Linked DNA regions of Homo sapiens: region 2 is linked to region 1. The links are contacts of gene promoters, found by promoter capture Hi-C in human tissues and cell types (Jung and others, 2019). All regions are on one chromosome and are shown on one strand. Each heading gives the region's core, a stretch centred on a gene start or on the middle of the fragment in contact. The rest is flanking DNA. Distances are from core to core; before and after follow the strand shown.

Region 1 (4,386 bases), core at 1,200-3,699:
GTCCTCATAAAAGCTCGCTAGCGCGATCTGAAACAGAGAGGTAGTACCTTGGGACCCTTAAACAGGCCTTCACCTAACGCACATCTCCTTTGAGCACAAAGGAATACAGACATGGCCAACACTTACAAGGTAGCTTGCATCCATGGGCCAAAGAAAATTAGACCAGAAGGTTAACAGCTCAGCTGTTAGTCTTCGTGTCAACTGAAACAAATTCCACCCACTAAGGTGAAAAGAAGGCAGTAAGAATGGCTGGGGTGGAAGACACTCTTTATTCTCATTTTATGAAGAAACGTGATCTAGTAAAAGTAGCACACATTTAGTGAGCATTTACATGCCAGGTTGTTCTGAGCATTCTACATACGTTAATTTGTTTAATCCTCAAGAACTCTATGCTATTAGTACTCTTATCATCTCATTTTATAGTTGATACAGAAGCACTGAGGATTAAAAAAAAATTTGTTCAAGTTTACACAACTGGTAAAGAGAGGAGCCAGGTTCCATCCCTGCTAGTGTGCTTAGGCCCTCACTCTTAAGCGCTTCCAGTACAGCCCGGAGTCAGGAACTGTGGAGTCAGTCCAGGTTGCTACTTTTCCTTTCTTTCAAGTTGTTTCCTAATCTGTGAAATGGGGGTACCTGTCTCACCAACCTGCACACTGGATGAGATAATCCATTAAGATTTATGCATACTCGCATCTTAGGTTTACACATACAGAAGGAATATGGGAATCCTTTGGTCATTTGTGACATCTCTGTCACCAACTCAACGGACAGGCATTCACTAATCACTTGCTTTGCACAAACACAAGAAAGCATTGAGGTCACAGAGATGAAATAGACATGGCCTCTGTCCTCAGGGTCACCAACTTCACAGGAGACAGTGAGCTGTCAAGGGATAAAAGTAATCTGCTGGGAGGCAGTGTGCTGTCTCAGGCCATGTAGTGAACTGGCATTCTCAGGGAGCCTACATTCAAGTCCTGTTCCTGCCAGGCAAGTCACATGCATGATCCTCAGTTTCCCCACTACAATGTGAGGGGAACGAGACAGAAGATCTGTTGGTCACAACACTGTGTGCTTTTAGGTCTTTCAGGTAGAAACTTTTTATTTCTGCCCAGCATAGGGGCTTCCCATTGTGTCTAGGTGTGATCTAGGTGTGATGCTTTACCGAATTCTTATGTTTGGGGAGTAATTTACGTTTGGCAGCAGACTCAGTTCAAATTCCAACCCCGCTACTTACTGGCTATGTGACCCTGAGCAAATTCTTTGCCCTCTGTGCTTCCAATTCCTCATCCATAAAATGGGTCTAGTCTTTACCTCATAGTGTTGCTAGGATCCAACGAATCATATTATGTAAAGTGCTTGGCACATGGTGGTTTAAAGCTTGGGCTCTGTCTGCTTGCAATCAGACAGAACTGGGTTCCACTTCTACCTCTTCTGCCTGGTAGCTAGTGAGGCCTTGAGCAAGTTACTTAACCTCTTTAATCTCAGCTGCAAAATGCGAAGGTTAAATGACAAAAGACATGTAAAGCAGTCAGAACAGCGCTTGGCTCATGGTAGGTACTCAATAAATATTAGTCATCACCGTCATCATCTACCTAAGACGAAGCTGGCCAAGAATATTTATGCAATTCTTTCTACAGTTAATTACCGAATGCTTATTATGTGCCAGGCATTGTTCCAGGCACTGGGAATTCATCAGTGTACAAAAATCCCTGCCTCGTGAAGCTTAAGTCTTCTTAGCAAGTATTTAGTGAATACTCAGTACGTGCCAATGAACTACACAGCAATTTCCACGAGACTCCCATTTTACAGATAAGTTAACTACGCAAGGTGAAGAAGCTCCAACCTTGCGCCACCACCCCAGAGGTATTCTCCCAGCAATTAGGAAGGCTGGGCGGCGGTCAACTCCCGGGCTGGACTTCGGAAGTGGAAATGAGCGGCCACCTAGTCCCGAGTGGGGCTTCACCCAAGAGCTGCTCACTCGGACCAGCCCGGCCTCCAGCAGATACTCGGCGCGGCAGCCACGCCCCCAGGCGCTCCCTCTCCTCGCCGGCTGCCGCAGCGCCCGAAGTCTCGCTGACGCCGCAAGCGGGCGAGGCAGGGTGAAACTGGCACGGCAGAACTGGCTGGGGCTGGCCCGCGTTCCCCCACTCCCAAGCCGAGCAGGCGACGCGTGACAAGCGGTCCCGGGACCATGAGGCCTGGGTCGGGCCGCGGTAGAGCGGGGATGACTGTGCGCTTCGGCCGCCGCGGGCTTAAGGCACCAGGCGCCCGCTCCCAGCAGTCCCCGGCCCACCCGACACAGCCCGCCGCGCGGCGCTACCTGCAAGTCCCAGCCGGCCGACTCGAGAAAGAAGCGGGCCCGGTCCTCCTCGGCGCCCGTCACCGCCACGAACTCCCTCAGCGCCTCCTGTCGCTCCGCCGCCATCTTCGCCCCGTGCGCCTTCCAAAGCGCTCCGGCGGCCGCCGCACAGGCCCAGCCCCGCTGCCGCGTTCCGCTTGCCGGTCGACGAGGCCCAGCCGATGAGGGCCCAGCAGCTGGGAGCCCGCCCGCAGCCCCGCCCCACGCGGTGCCTCACGCAAAGCCCTCCGTGCGGGAAGCCCCGCCGCTCCGCGCCCTCTGGCGACCGCGGCGCGAACCGCAGCCTAACGGCGGGGGTGGGAGCCCGAAGGATGAGAGGCGGGGCGGGTCTTACATACACCTGTGGGCTGAAGGCTCCCTGCAGGAGTCAGATTCCCAGTTATTCATTGACGCAGCCCTCATTTCATTAATTGTGCATTCGTTCATTCACTTACTTGTCAAGCATTTACTGAGAGCTATCAATGGCCCGACGTTTTTCTAGGGCTGTGGATATGGCAGGGAGCAAAACAAAGTCCCTGCTCCCATGCTTCTTACATTCTAGGGGTAAAAATTCAGACCTTGAACAGGCTAGGCCTCCGCTCACAACACGTCCATGCCTCGTTATCTCGCCCCGCATAAAAGACAGTCTCATGGCCTGCCTGCAGGACCCATGAGAGATGGGCCAGTTCCTCCCTCTCATCAAGGGATCCGCTAGCTTCCTCTGCTCCAGGCGCCTTGCCCTCCTTGCTGTTCCTGGAACTTGCCAGTTATCTTGCATTTGCCTCAGGGCCGTTGCATTAGCTGCTTCTGTGCCTGGAGCACCTTTCCCTTACCGATGGGCAAGGCGCTCTCCCCGCTTTCTTTGGGCCTCTGCTCCAAGGCCACTTTCTTAGGCACAATCCTGTCTTCTGGGTCCTCAGCTTCTTTGCCCTCTTGCCTCTCCAAAGAGGAACTTACTTGTTCAGCTTACTTGTTCTTTGTTCTCTATTTTCAAAGCCTAACTTCCTTGTTCTTTGTACCTCCTTACCCCTAGTTACGGTAAACAACCTTCCCGCGGGTCCTAATCTATAACTCACATCTGTTCCCTTGGATACCCTCGCTACAATTGCCATTCCCGCGGAAACTCTTCTTCCTGCCGAAACCGCTTGCCCTACCACTGTAGCCCACATTTCTGCTCCATTTGAACTAGCCAATCGGGATTAGCTTAGATTGCGCAGTCCAGCCCCAGCCAATGGGAACAGGACACAGAAGCAGCGACTAACCGCATTAGGGATAAAAACCCCTTCTCTCTTTTGTTCGGTGTGCTTTCCTGAAGACCAGATGTGTGAGTGGCACCCTTCTGCAGAAGTAAATTGGCTTTGCTGAAAAATCTTTTATTTCAGTGCTGGTTTTCCTTGAGACTTCGAGCTTTAATTTCCAACACCACCGTGGGACACTCTTCCCTTCCTCTTCCTCTGTCGGCCCCTGCTCATTCTTCAGCTCTCAGTTCAGGTGTCCCTTTCTCAAGGAGACCTTGAGAAGGTGCCCAGGCTTAGTCAAAACCCCTCTTAATCAGGTTATGAACAGCACAAAGTCCAGTCTTCCCTCAATTGACACAATAGTTGCTTTCCTGGAAAATTCGGTGTCTTATTAACACTGTGCAAGAAATCCTTTAAGTTTATATGACAAACGAGTTAGGGCTTGGGTTAGGTTATTAGGAGCATGGTTGCAGCCACAATAGGCCCTGGCAGGAGGCATGGGAGGAGGGTCCTTTCTTTGTGGTGTGAGACTCTCCTTTCTATTGCAAGGCCACCCAGGACCAGCCCCGGTCCCTAGGACTTACCCCTTTCATCATTGTGTCAACTCGAAATGCACCCCAACTTTCCAGGAAGTCCAAGAAGCTAGAGGCTCACTCTGGACCTCACGATTGGCAACCAGTAAGGTCTTTCTACCCTGGAAACTGACAACGACTAACCCCAGCTTAAAGATCTGCAGGCGATCAGCTCCTCAAGGTCCAGTTCCCTGGCTGGTATTGGAGTCATTGAAACTCATTGTCACCCCCCCTCTTC
Region 2 (4,386 bases), core at 967-3,466, 810 kb before region 1:
CCAAGGTTATCTAGATGGGTCGAATGCCATTATCAGGGTCCTTAAAACTGGAAGAGGAAGTAGAGGAAGAGGTCAGAGTGATGCGATGTGAGAAGGCCTTGGCCTGATGTTGCTGGCTTTGAAGACAGAGGAAGAGGCCATAAGCCAAGCAGTGTGGGTGGCGTCTGGAAGCTGGGAAAGGCGAGGAAATGGATTCTCCCCTAGAGCCTACAGAAAGTAGTGCAGCCCTGCTTGGTGTTAGCCCAGTAAGACCCATTTTGGACTTCTGACCATAAATAAACCTGTGTTGTTTTAAGCCATCAACTTTGTGGTAACTTACAGTGGCCCCAGAAAACTAATACAGGTGTATGTAAGCAAAGGCAGAGCTGGTTCTGGCCCTCAGAGCCTACGGTTCTAGCACGGAAGGCAGGTGTCTAGACAGGACGTTAAAAGCCAGTGGGCTGTAATCCCAGCACTTTGGGAGGCCGAGGTGGGCAGATCGCTTGAGGTCTGGAGTTTCAGACCAGCCTGGCCAACAGGGTGAAACCCCATCTCTACTAAAAATACAAAAATTAGCCAGGCGTGGTGGTGGGCGCCTGTAATCCCAGCTACTTGGGAGGCTGAGGCAGGAGAATGGCTTGAACCCGGGAGGCGGAGGTTGCAGTGAGCCAAGATCGTGCCACTGCACTCCAGCCAGGGTGACAGACCCAGACAACGTCTTAAAAAAAAAAAAAAAAAGCCAGTGAGATCAGAGCTATGCAGGTGGGCACACAGGTGGCTGCAGGCCCACAGAAGCTCCTAACCCGGTAGGGATGGTCAGGGAAGATCCTGACACTGAGACAGGAAGACCGAGAAAGAGTGAGAAACGACAAGGCAGAGATAGAAGAGGTTCTCAACGGGAGAAAAAGCCCAGTGGTGGGACAGGGCATGCATGGCAGATCCCTTCCCATCTCAGCCAGGCGCCGTGCTACTATTGTGGCAACAGATAAGATGGGACGAGGTCCTCGCCCTTGTGGAGTGCACGTGAGGTCAGGAAGACAGAAAATAAAATGCAACACAAATAGATGTATAATATAATTTCTGGTGGACATAAGTGGTATCCTGAAAAACATCTCGGGCTAAGGGGAGAGCTAGAGAGGCCAGTGACTCTGACCAAGGGTGATCAAGGAGGCAGAGAGCTGAACCAGGCAGGGGAGCAGGCCCTGTGGTTGTCTGGGGAAGTGGCTCCAGGCAGTGAGGACACTAGTGTAAATACTAGGACTGAAAGTTATCGGGGGTGGCTGTAGAGGTGCTGGGTGGGGCTTAGGGATCTCATGTGCTCACCTTCCAAGGGTCGGGGGAAGGGGACACAACGTTATGTAGGCCTAACCTGACACCTGTTCTTGCGGGGCCCCCAAGTTCCTGCCAGAATCACTCCGGTATTCTTAACACCCTTCCTCAGTGGTGGAGCTGACCCTTGACCTCTCCCACTTCCCATTCAGACAAGGGCCTCCCAGCAGATATGACACACCTAGTCCCACTGTCACTGACTGTCACAGCCATGAGAGCCCACGGCTTATCTCCGGGTAGTGCGGTGGCCATGTGCTGGGCAGTGGGGCCCAGGCTGCCTGGGTGTGAATTCCAGCCGTGTCACTTTTTAAGCGCCTGATCTTAGTCAAGCCGCTGAAATCTTCCCTGCCTCAGTTCTCGTCTGCAAAAGAGCCACTATCTACCTCCTAGGGTTGGCATAGGAAACTGAGGGACTTCCTGCAGTTCCTGGACCACTGCAAGCACTAGCGTTATAAGCGTTATCATCACTACTTTAATTATCTCGCCCAATTCCCTCCTTGCTCAAGTGAGGAAACAGAGGCCCAGAGAGGCCCAGCTACTTGCTCAAGGTCACACAGCAGAGGCTGAGCTCCGGCTGGGCCCGGAACCAGTCCGTCTCGCGTCCATCGCAGCGACCTCCCTCCTCCGGCAACCTCCCTCCTCCGAAGCCCTCCCTCCGGTTGGCTGGACTCCCCGAGGCCTCACCCGGATCGTGTCCACGAGGCTCTGCACCTTGGCGGGGTCCAACACGGACGGCAGCGGCCGGATGAGCACGCTCAGCGGCACGTTGTGCACCGCGGCGATGCGGCCCGAGTGGATGCTGCCGCCCTGCGCGCCGCCGCTCGGCCCGGGCCCCTCGGGCGCCCCCCGACCCGCGCCGGCCCTGCCCAGCGTTCCTCCTGCACGCAGCCCCATCGTCGCCGCCGCCGCGGGACTCGCCGCCTCCCCCCGGCCTTAACTCCGGCCGGGCCATACCATTCCGCGCGGCCGGGGGGGGGGGCCCGTGCCAGGGCAGCGCGCGTTTCTCCCCCGACCCCGCCGCGGTCCGGCCTCGACCCCGCGGTCCCCAGCCCGACTCCGGCTCCGCTCGCCAGGTGCCGCCAGACTCGCGCGGGGCTCAGGCTCTCCACCGGGGGGCGCCTCTCGCCTCCCCTGCGCCGCGCGGCGTCCGGGGAGTGGAAACGCCCGGGCGGGCTGACTCAGGGTGAGTTTGCAGGTCGCGGGGCGGGAGGGGCGCGGGTGACGCACCGGCCGGGCCGACTTAGGCCGCGGGGGCGGGGGCGGGGGAGAGCGCGGCGGACCTGCCCAGCCAGGGTGAGTCGGCAAAGCCCGCGGTGCGCTGCTGCCCCGCTGCTGGGGTTCCTAGCCAGCGAGGTTATGATCCCCACCAGCGGTTCCACTTCCAGTCTGGCGCCGGCTGTGTCTGGAGTCGTTCCGAACATTTTGCACGTGTATTAACGTATCTGAACCTCAAAACAACCCTGCAAGGAAGGTATGACTGTTATTCCCATTTTACAGAAGAGGAGACTGAGACACAGGTTTAAGTGATGTACCCAAGATCACGGAACTAGTAAGTGGCCGAATCCGCGTTCAAATCCAGACGGTCTGGCTCCAGAGTCCGCCTTCTACCCCACCGTTGGCTGCCTTGGTTCAGCAACAGTGACTGTCACACGGAGCCCTCAGGAGTCGCGCTGACAATGGGTGGGCCCTGCCTTCAAGTTCCACACTGTCTGTTTGTGTCATTACAACACTACTGGAAGTAGGTGCAGTTATAGACCCGCTGTTCAAGGTCAGCTGAAATGAAAGTCAGGTCACACGAGTCCAAACTGTGGGGCCACTTAACCACCAACTCCAAGCAGGAAGGTGGACGATCCCAGACTCGGTCGAAGACAAGCATGTCTGGTTTGCTTGTCTTCCTTCTCAACCTGAATGGCACGAACATGGAGAAATGCATACTTACCCTGCCAGCTGGAGAAAACTGGAGACGAAGGAGGGAGCCAGGAGTTTCTACTTTGCCTTCCACCAGTTGCTGACACTTTCTGAACCCCGTCTGTAAAATGAAGTCATGCTGCCCATCACTCAAAGTTGTGTGAATTGAGAGAGTGCTCATAGTGCTCTGTGAATTGCATAACATCCATTTTGCTGTTGAAGATCATTTATTTTGGGTTCTTAGTCTCTCACAAAACCTTAGAACACTGACACCAAGACTCCAGCCTTTCCCTTTCGAAACATAATTCCCGTGCGCACCTAAATGATACTTTATTTCAAGAAGTAGAACTGACACCCACACCTCAGCCCCAGAATTATTCAGAATTAGAGAATTTCATCAAGAGGGAAGTTATCCCTTCTAAAACATCTTCCTCATTACAGGAAGTAAGAATGGCAGGATAACAGTTTCTAGAGTGGAAAAGTGGAGCTCTGGCCTGATTCTATCATCATGGTGTACCCAGGGAGGCCTCATTTCCTGGTATCAAATTCTCTGTGTTAAGATATCTATGGCCCAATTCAAAATGGCTTAAGCAATAAGAAGGTTTGTTTTCTCACATAATAAAATGTTTGGAGGTAGGTATGTCCAAGGTTGGTAAAGAGGCAGTTGAACAATGTGACCAAAGACTCCAGTTCTGGCTGGGCCCGGTGGCTCACACCTGTAATCCCAGCACTTTGGAAGGCTGAGGCAGGCGAATCACTTGAGGCCAGGAGTTCGAGACCAGCCTAGCCAACATAGTGAAACCCTGTCTCTACCAAAAGTACAAAAATTAGGCAGGCATGGTGGCGCGCGCCTGTAGTCCCAGTTACTCCAGAGGCTGAGACAGGAGAATTGCTTGAAACCGAGAGGCAGAGGTTGCAGTGAGCTGAGATCATGCCGTTGCACTACAGCCTGGGTGAGAGAGTGAGACTCTCTCAGAAAAAAAAGACCCTGGTTCTGTCTATCCTTTTGTGCCATCATCCTTGGTGTTCTGTTATCCTGCGGTGTGCCCCTCATGGTCCCAAGATGGCTACTGTAGCTCAAAACATCACATCATTACATGCGAATGTCCACAAGTGGAAGTTAGGACATCCCTTCGAGCCTCTTTTTAAGAGTGAAGAAACCTTCCCTGG

What was found. Contacts are between HindIII fragments. The study calls those that stand out against the background at their distance.
Region 2: the fragment with the promoter of SRXN1 here is called in contact with the fragment with the promoter of NSFL1C in region 1 in 1 of the 25 tissues and cell types used here (lymphoblastoid cells).

What each region holds. Positions count from the first base shown.
Region 1 is chr20:1,464,400-1,468,785 of GRCh38, forward strand. It overlaps NSFL1C (NSFL1 cofactor), which reads right to left and starts at 2,450. Exons shown (of 9, transcript NM_016143.5): 1 at 2,321-2,450; 2 at 1-27. The coding sequence starts at 2,425. RefSeq lists an enhancer at 1,679-2,180 and a silencer at 2,475-2,744. The HindIII fragment of the contact is 15,990 bases long and covers 1,550-4,386 here.
Region 2 is chr20:650,984-655,369 of GRCh38, forward strand. SRXN1 (sulfiredoxin 1) reads right to left here and starts at 2,217. Exons shown (of 2, transcript NM_080725.3): 1 at 1,993-2,217. The coding sequence starts at 2,202. It overlaps LOC107985423 (a long non-coding RNA gene), which reads left to right and starts at 1,970. Exons shown (of 2, transcript XR_001754452.2): 1 at 1,970-2,491; 2 at 2,806-4,386. RefSeq lists a silencer at 2,095-2,654. The HindIII fragment of the contact is 30,072 bases long and covers 1-4,386 here.